3 separate regions of the Homo sapiens genome follow, and all the other regions are linked to region 2. The links are contacts of gene promoters, found by promoter capture Hi-C in blood cells and fetal thymus (Javierre and others, 2016). All regions are on one chromosome and are shown on one strand. Each heading gives the region's core, a stretch centred on a gene start or on the middle of the fragment in contact. The rest is flanking DNA. Distances are from core to core; before and after follow the strand shown.

What was found. Contacts are between HindIII fragments. The CHiCAGO score rates a contact against its expected background, and 5 or more counts as called.
Region 1: a fragment that was not itself captured here is called in contact with the fragment with the promoter of C1QL3 in region 2 in 1 of 17 cell types (endothelial precursors); the score reaches 5.3 in endothelial precursors.
Region 3: a fragment that was not itself captured here is called in contact with the fragment with the promoter of C1QL3 in region 2 in 1 of 17 cell types (endothelial precursors); the score reaches 5.5 in endothelial precursors.

The regions. Positions count from the first base shown.
Region 1 is chr10:16,109,746-16,113,095 of GRCh38, reverse strand. No RefSeq gene overlaps it. Among named protein-coding and RNA genes, the nearest start is that of LINC02654, 170 kb to the left of the region's middle. The HindIII fragment of the contact is 998 bases long and covers 1,021-2,018 here.
Region 2 is chr10:16,520,623-16,523,618 of GRCh38, reverse strand. C1QL3 (complement C1q like 3) reads left to right here and starts at 1,740. Exons shown (of 2, transcript NM_001010908.2): 1 at 1,740-2,996. The coding sequence starts at 2,554. RefSeq lists silencers at 1,800-2,029, 2,300-2,519, 2,830-2,889. The HindIII fragment of the contact is 3,157 bases long and covers 928-2,996 here.
Region 3 is chr10:16,010,142-16,013,195 of GRCh38, reverse strand. No RefSeq gene overlaps it. Among named protein-coding and RNA genes, the nearest start is that of MINDY3, 150 kb to the right of the region's middle. The HindIII fragment of the contact is 2,320 bases long and covers 380-2,699 here.

The DNA of each region.
Region 1 (3,350 bases), core at 270-2,769, 410 kb after region 2:
ATCAGTATAATTTTTCCTTGATACTACCAATAGACTGGATACTTTTCCTTGTTACTTAGACTAATCCTGGCTGGACAGAAGGATTTTTACCTGATTGTATTTTATGTATTTATTTTCTTCTCCTCCTTCTTTTTCGTTCTTTCTTCTTTGAGATGGGGTCTTGCTATGCTGCCCAGGCTGGTCTCAAACTCCTGACCTAAAGCGATCCTCCCACCTAGACCTCTAAAACTGCTAGGATTACAGGCATGAGCCTCGTGCCCAGCCTTGATTTTAGGTTCCCTTACTCTCTCCTGACCCCGATATAAATGAGCTTTCACTTAGTTCCTGAGCTCTGACCCAACCCTTGCTCCCCTTGACATGTCCCAGTTATTATAATTGGACTTAGCCTTGATCTGTCTTTCCCAATTTTCTTTATGAGAAGCTGCCTGGTTCTTGTCTTATGTCCTGGCTGGTACCCTTTCTTGATGGGTAGACATTCTACATTGTACTTCGCCAACCTGTTTATACCTCCGAACTCATTATCAGCTTGGATTCCATAGTGTCAATTGCTTGCCTGGACTGAAAGTGAACATGATGAGAAGATGCCTTGGAAAAAGCACTCAGATTCCCAGATTGCATGGCCCTTGGGTATTTGTATCTGGATCACTTCTCTCCTATGTCCCCATCTTGGCTCAATGAATAAGTTTCATTTCAGGTCCTTGCTCCTGCCCACCTGACTTATATTATTGTAATCTCATTAAGCTCTTTTATTGACCTCTGAAGTCTTTTGAGAGGAACATTTAGTGGCCTCTGTGTCAGATTTTAAAAGAAATATTATAGGCATTATTTATTGTAAGGCTTTTAACATCCTATGAAGTGGAGACTTTGCAACCCTCATTTTATAAATTAGATAACTGTAGCCCAGGGAAATTATGTCACTTGTCCAAAGACACAAGGCAGCTGTGTGCTTTTAGATCTTGTACTCTTTCTTCTGTACCATGCCGAGGGTCAATGGTATTAATGAAATACCTTCATAAAGCTTTCAGGGAACAATGTAAAATTTAATTCGACAATTTGGTAATGTAACATTTAGCTGAAATTTGATATGATTATGAAGTATTATGGTAAGCCACACCAAAATATTTTGGGAACCATTAAAAACTGGTTTTGGTGAGTCTTTTAGGAAATATTTTCAAAATTTGTACTTGTGCTTTTTTATGTGTACATGATTTTTGTTTCAATTAGAGGTATTTTTCTTTAGCATCTGCTTCTCTCACCCCATAACATGTATTCTCCTACACAGTTTACTCATTCTGCGTTATGCCTTCCCTTTAAATATTCTTGTTTTCTAAGGATCTATTTTCTAGAACGCTACTGTCATATCAATCCTATTTTAAAACACCAAAAATGAGACCTGACATAGTTGCATAATGATTATTGGTTTATGTCAATCTGAGTATGGGACTGTTAGGGAAGGTGGGTCTATTGTTTACTAAGAGCCTTTTAGTTCCACACACAGCAGGTTCCTATCCCTTTCCCAAGGCACACCAGCCCACATTCAGAATTGCAGCCATTGGGTAATATGTTCTGGGGCAGTGCAGTCTGCTTGTCTCTACACCAAGAGGGTCAAAGTGGAGATTGCTGCCCCTACTCCGGCCCCCCCCCCCGCCCCCCTCATTCATAGCACTCTAGGGACACTTTGTTCACTAACCACTTGAAACATGATTCACATGCGCAAGATCACCTTTTCAATGGTGTGTTAGTTTTCTATTGCTGCTGTAAAAAAATGGCCATAAGTTTAGTGGCTTAAAACAACACAAACTTATGATTTTATAGTTCTGGAGGCCAAAAGTCCCAAATCAGTTTCACTGGGATAAGTTGAAGGTGACAGCAAGGCTTCGTTCTCCCTGGAGGCAATGAGGAAGAATCCATCTCCTTGCTTTTTCCAGCTTCTAGAGTAAACTTGTCCAACCTGCAGTCCATGGGTCATATACAGCCCAGAATGGCTTTAAATGCGGCCCAACACAAATTCGTAAGCTTTCCAAAACATTATGAGATTTTTTTTGCAATTTTTTTTTTCAAGATGAAGTCTTGCTCTGTCACCCAGGTTGGAGTGCATTGGCATAATCTCAGCTCACTCCAACCTCCGCCTCCCGGGTTCAAGCGATTCTCCTGCCTAAGCCTCCTATGTAGCTGGGATTACAGGCACCCGCCACCATGCCTGGCTAATTTTTGTATTTTTAGTAGAGATGGGGTTTCACCATGTTGTCCAGGCTGGTCTCGAACTCCTGACCTCAGGTGATCCGCCAGCCTTAGCCTCCCAAAGCACTGGGATATTACAGGCGTGAGCCACCATGCCTGCAATTTTTCTTTTCTTTCTTTTTTCTTTTTCTTTTTCTTTCTTTTTTTTTTTTTTTTGTTCATCAGCTATTGCTAGTGTTAGTGTATTTTATGTGTGGCCCAAGACAATTCTTCTTCTTCCAATGTGGCCCAGGGAAGCAGAAAGATTGGACACTTCTGTAATCTAGACACTGCCTGCATCATTTGACTCGTGGCTCTTCCTACATCTTGAAAAGCCAGAAATGTAGCATATTACCTCCTTTTTAACCTCCATTTCTGTCCCTACTTATTCTTTCTCTTTGACAATGATGCTCTTGCACCTTCTTATAAGGGCCTTTTTGATCACTGTGGACCCACGTGCATAATCTAGGATAACCTCCCTTACTCAAGATCCTTCACTTAATCGCATCTAGCAAGTCCTTTTTACCATATAAGGTAATATGTTACTATTTCTGGAGATTAGGTTGTGGACATCATTGGGGAGCTATTTTCAATCTACCACAAAGGATTTAGTTTCCAACATTGATAGCACAACTGGTGGGGAAAAAAAATAGTTTGATTTGGCCGGGAGCGGTGGCTCACACCTGTAATCCCAGCACTTTGGGAGGCCGAGACAGGTGGATCACCTGAGATCAGGAGTTCAAGACCAGCCTAGCCAAAGTAGCGAAACCCCATCTCTACTAAAAATACAAAAAGTAGCTGGGCGTGATGGGGGGCACCTGTAATTCCAGCTACTCAGGAGGCTGAGGCAGGAGAATCACTTGAACCTGAGAGGCGGAGGTTGCAGTGAGTCAAGATCGCGCCATTGTACCCAGCCTGGGCGACAAGAGTGAAACTCCATCTCAAAAAAAAAAAAAAAAGTTTGATCTATCTTTTCCTCCCGTCCTCTGCTTCTCCCTTTCTTTCTTTCAACATTAGAAGATCTGACTGTAGTAGAAAGGCTAATCTATTGGATGGTGGAAAGATTAAATGGAGTGATAAACTGTAAACTCTGGGTCCTAGATGTAGCTCTTCACTGATGTTAAGGAATC
Region 2 (2,996 bases), core at 491-2,990:
TGAAAATAAGGCAGCTCATGTGAACAAAAATATTATGGAACTATGTGTATAATTATGCCCAAGCAATAGGCGCGCATTTATAAAACCACTACCCTAAAATAAAAGTTAAGGGCTTGAGAAGTGGGAAGCCCTATTTTCCAATACCAGGAGCAGTGTGGCTCTCTCAGTAGCCAGGAGGTGGAGACCCCCACCCCGCTGAGCCACACAGCACAGCTTTTAGGGTTGATTCTCCCAGCCAAGGCCTGAAGGAGCTACTGACATTTCTCTTAAAAGAATCATTCAGTCTTTGTTTCCTTCTGTCTGCTCGTTTGACCTTATTTTGTTTTGAAACAGAGAAGAAAGAAAGAAAGAAAGAACTAAATTGGTGGGGTGGACTGGAGTAGGCTGGGGGGCGGGGAGATTGAGGCACAGGGAGGAAAGGAGAAGTCCATGCTGTGACACCCGCAGACAAGATCACAGGCTGCTGATCGTCACCCAGGATGTTACTGTTTGCTTGCTGTAGTCTTATTTGTTCCTGCTTTTCTCATTTCAGATTCTCACCCTGATGTAATAAGTCACCGTCTTCCCAGCCATCATCCTCGTATTGACAAGCAAATGTCACCCACGTTTGATTGACATCTGTTGCTCCTGAATGCAAAAGTATGATTTAGGATTCAATTCTACTTATTTATTTAAAGCCATTCTTGTGTGTCTTATGTATTTGTTGGTGGGGTAACTTGCCTGATATCTACCCTGGAGGCCTTCCAGTAATATGATAAACCATGCTGTTCCTTCTGCAGCTCACCCACTGAGAATGGGGGCTCTTCTTTCTTGTATTTCTCCTACTTCTCCCCTCCCTCAATGTATATTCGGGAAATCTGCTATGGAGCTTATAGAACTCTTTCCATATGCTAGGAAAAGACCTTGCCCAGCACTTGTGCAAAAGCTTCTTGCTTGATCTTTTGACGCCATTTTGACAAGTGGTTATTTCTTGTACATTTAGCGACTTTAAGTAAACGCAACTTCAGGGCCATTGGCGGTATCCCCCGAAAGACTGCTAGAACTGTAAGACTGTAAGCACAGTACGTATGTATGCACTCACCACGGTGCAGCATTTGTAAAAAGGACCAACCCCCTCCTCCCCCAGAGGCGGTGGACATGTTCATTTAAAATCATTCACAAATGTTCTTTGGCTTTTCAACATACCTCACTGTTCTTGGGGCAACATCTTATTCATTTACAAGGCAGAGGAGGAAAACCATCAGGTTAAAAGAAAATCACATCTACCATCTGGAAAATTCTAAAAGGCCCTCCTTCTGTTAACAGTGGCATTTTGAAAACACCTGAAGCACTGATTGTAGAGGAGCTAGCAAAGAAACTGTCAACTCAGCCACCCTCCTTTCAACCTTCACCTCCACCCTCCAACTGGGGCTGCTGGCAGTGGGGAAATCGGGGATTTAGGTGTGACCCTTGAGCTCTGAAAGCTGTCGCACAGCTGTCTCCCTTCCCCAGGTGGGTCCAGCAGGACCTGCCATCGCTTGGTTCAGCAAGGGAGTATTCAGAATCTCACTGTTCATCCATGTGCAGAGAGAGAAAAAAAGAGAGGCCGAAAAAAAAAAAAAAATCCCACATTGTCAGAGTAATGCCAAACTCTCTCTGAGTGGGATGAGCAGAGCAGATGCTGCAATGAGATGCCAAAGCGGCTCCCCTTCCTCTGTGCCTTGGGTGCCTATAAATTGCTCCGGCGCGCGTTTGTCAGCCTCCTCTTCTCCTGGCAGGTGGTACCCAGGCAGAATTCTGCCTTCAGTCTCTCTCTCGCTCCGCTCCCGGCCGTGAGGCGCTCGCCGCTGCTCGCTCGCTCCTCCGCCCCAGCTCTGAGCCTCGCCGTGCCGACCGTGCCCGCCGCCGCCGCCGCTGGGCGCACCCGGGGGACGCCCGGGCCCACGCGGGGCTTTGGGGTGCGCGTCTATTCGAGTTGTGGTGGTGGCAAAGGAGGAAGAGAGAAAGGAGGCAATAAAAAAAAAAGGCAGCGGACGGGCGAACTGAGCGAGCGAAAGAAGAGGAGGAGGAGGCAGAAAAAGGCAACTTCAGACGGAAAGTTGGTGCGAACAGGCGCAGTCTGCAAAAACGGAAAAGTCGATCGCAGGCGGCGGCGGCATAAAAGTGTGAGCTGCCCGGGCGAGCTCAGGAGGCGGCGGCTGGCTCTGCCCTCCCGGTGGCCGCGCCGGCGCCGGCTGCAGCCACAGGTGCGAAGGAGCTCGCGGGGGGCGAGGGCGCCCCGCGCACCCCTCCCCCGGCCCCCACCCCGGGCTCGGGACTTCGGCTCAAGTCACTGGGCGCCCGCGCTCCCTCCCCAGCCGCAGCCTCCGCGGGGGGAGCAGGAGTCGGCAGCAGCGGCCGGCGCACGCACGCCCAGGGGAGTTGGGGTTCGCAGGGGGTTGTTTTCGGCTCTGAAGAGGTCCCCGCCCAACCTTCAAAATTCTGTCCAAAAGCAGACAAGAGGATCGCCCCGCGCTGAGCCGGCTGGTGGGCAGCAGGAGGCGCCTGATCGCCGCCGGGGCGCTGGGGGTGGTGATGGTGCTGCTGCTGGTGATCCTCATCCCGGTGCTGGTGAGCTCGGCCGGCACGTCGGCGCACTACGAGATGCTGGGCACCTGCCGCATGGTCTGCGACCCCTACGGGGGCACCAAGGCGCCCAGCACCGCTGCCACGCCCGACCGCGGCCTCATGCAGTCCCTGCCCACCTTCATCCAGGGCCCCAAAGGCGAGGCCGGCAGGCCCGGGAAGGCGGGTCCGCGCGGGCCCCCCGGAGAGCCCGGGCCACCCGGCCCCATGGGGCCCCCGGGCGAGAAGGGCGAGCCGGGCCGCCAAGGCCTGCCGGGCCCGCCCGGGGCGCCCGGCCTGAACGCGGCCGGGGCCATCAGCGCCGCCACCTACAGCACGGTGCCCAAGATCGCCTTCTACGCCGGCCTCAAGCGGCAGCATGAAGGCTACGAGGTGCTCAAGTTCGACGACGT
Region 3 (3,054 bases), core at 290-2,789, 510 kb after region 2:
GCTACAATTCAAGATTAGATTGGGGTGGGGACACAGCCAAACCATAGCACCCCATGAGCTGAGGAATATCAGCAGCCTCTACAAGCTGGAAAAGGCAAGGAATGTTTTCTCCATTGGAGCCTCCAGAAGGAACACAGGCCAGACAATAGTGTGAACTTAGCCCCCTGAGAGTGATTTTGGACTTTTGACCTTCAGAACTGTAGGATCATAAACTTGTATTGCTCTAAACCACTAAGTTTGTGGTTACTTGTCACAGCAGCAAAAGGAAGCAAATACACTTATCCTATTTCTTGACTGCCTGTGATGCCCCCTTCACGTTCCCAGAGTTTCTTGTCCCTTCTTCTCTTCCTTCATTTCAGAGGTCAGTTCTACCTAAGCTTGCTTTCTTCCTGTCTCAAAGAGTTCCACCTTGTGATCTTATCAATGTGTGACTTTAAATTCTGCAGTTTTACCCTACATTTCACAGTTTCCACATGCTGCATGGTACTAGTTGTGCCTGCCTGCGGTCTTCACCTGGAATCACAATCTATTGGCTGGGCTCAATCTCATGGTTTGGTGTTAGACAAAATTGAAGGAGGGGTTTTGTTGTTGTTTGGGTGTTTTTTTTAATCCTTGAGTTTTCCACTTTGTAAAACACTTTGTACAGTGTCTCTCTTGCAATGAAAATTAGACATGCATCTCTTTTCATTCAGCACTTCCCTGCCTCTCTTCGCATCATCAGCAATAATAAGGAAGAGGAAAGGTGCGTCTTTGTTGTGAAATAAAAGATCTGAAAATGCTACTATGAGTGTATAAAACCTGCCCCAGCCCTTTCATTCAGAATCCAGTCATCTGAGTCAAAGGGTAAAGAGCTTCAGCATCAAACTATCAGACGACTCAGTGGAGAAAATATCTAACCCTGTCAGAAATTGAAAGTTAAGGCCAAATTACACTTAAATTCTTTGCTATGCTTGTCTTTTGTGTTATTAAGATTTAGAAATTACCTTAGGTGGAATTTCTGAAGGCTTCATGCCCTTTGTTTTTCTCTTGTAATTAAAAAAATAAAGGACAGATTTTAGAGTTGATGGGAATCAGTGTTCTAGCCAGTGAAGGAGCTGCCTCTATAATATCCTCCACAGATCTCATCAGTGTCTTCTTAAATGTCTCCAGTGAGCATGGACTCATTATTAGCTAAAGTTCCCTTTTCAAGAGAGTGCAAGTGAAACTGTAATGTTCTTCCCCACTTAAACTAAAATTCTATATCACAATGACACATTTTTCTCAATTATTCTAAGGAAATTGTGTGTGTGTATATTTGTATATGTATATACACATGGTTTTCTTTTGTGTATTTAATTAGACACTGGATCAAAGACATACAAATAAGTACTTTGAAAATGCACTCTGATTTCTAAAGTAACCCAGATGCCTGCTGATACCTCCTGCCCTTCATAAATGTGGTTGAACTTGGCTTAAATCCCAAACCCACAACCTGTGACAGTTCAGAGAACTTGCACAACTTTTCTGGCATCCTTGATTGAATTCTCTATTTTTTTTTTTTTTAGAAAAAGCAAAAGCAAACAAACAAACAAAAAAACAGGGTCTTGCTCTGTCACCCAGGCTAGGGTGCAATGACATGATCACAGCTCACTGCAGCCTCAACCTCCTGAGATCAAGTGACGTTCCCACCTCAGCCTCCCAAGTGGCTGGGACTACAGGTGCATGCCACCATACCTAGCTAATTTTTGTATTTTTTTTTTTTTTTAGAGACAGGGTATTGCTATGTTGCCCAGGCTGGTCCCAAACTCCTGGGCTGAAGCCATCCACCTTTCTTAGCCTCCCAAAATACTGGGATTACAGTCATGAACCACTGCACCTGGCCTAATTGAATTTTTAGTCATCTCTCAGCCCCCAGGTGTTTCTACCCTTTTAAATAGCGACACAAAGTATCCACCTGTTGTCCAAAAGACATGCACCCACTCCAGCTCTTCCATGTGCTTCATTCTTTACCTGCAGATTTGGGGGATCCACACATTGTCCAAAAGACATGCACCTGACCCAGCCTTTCCATGTGCTTCATTATTTGCCTGCAGATTTGCTGGATCAGGGAGATCTTTATAATACAGAACATAGCCAAGCACGGTGGCTCACACCTATAATTCCAGCACTTTGGGAGGCTGGGGTGGGCAGATCACTTGAGGTCAGGAGTTCAAGACCAGCCTGGCAAACATAGTAACATTGTCCACACACACACAATGCTCTCCTTAAAAGGAACTCTGCTGGATACAGTTTGTTCCAGCTTTGGCACAGAGAAATAATGACTCAATCATGTATCTATCAATGTGGGGTGGAAATTGACCTTTTCATTTCCCCCCTCCTAATTGCTGTTGTAGGCAAAGTCATATCTCACGTCTCAGTGGTGAAGCCTGCTGAAGATGATCCACACTGGTGCAGAGCACTGGATGGGGAATTGGAAGTCCTGGCACCATTCGACTTGACATGCTTTTCTCCTTGATCATATAGACTCTCTGAGTCTCAGGACTTCAGAGTTTTGGGGATGATGAAATTCTGCCTTGTGTGTGGAACTAATTTGAAAAGTGCACAGTTCCATACAGGTGTATGTTATGATTATGCTTGTGATGTTCATTTAAAGCAACAAACAGACCATGTGTAACTGAACACAGTTGTGGAGAGAAGTCTCAGACTGCTCTCGATAAGCTTCCCAGATTTAGCAACATCTTGGCTGCCTGTGCGGCCAGGAAACTCTATAAAGATCTGTTTGCTGGGGAGAGAGACTAAGGACTTCCTTCTCTCTTTAAGGCTCAAATTAGTGAGAGTGTCCTTTCTGGGTGTTTTTTTAACAAGTCCACCTCCAGTCCAGATGGCATAAGGAAGCACAGTGGCAGGACAAAATAACAAACAACAGCAATTACACTTTTAAAAATATTCGTTATTTTTGTATGCAATTCAGGAGACTGGGAAATGTTTGAGGACAACTTCAAGGATAAACAAGATCAGCGAAATACAGGATATCAGTGATTCAGAGGCAGGGAAGAGTGAAGTGACATTTATTTA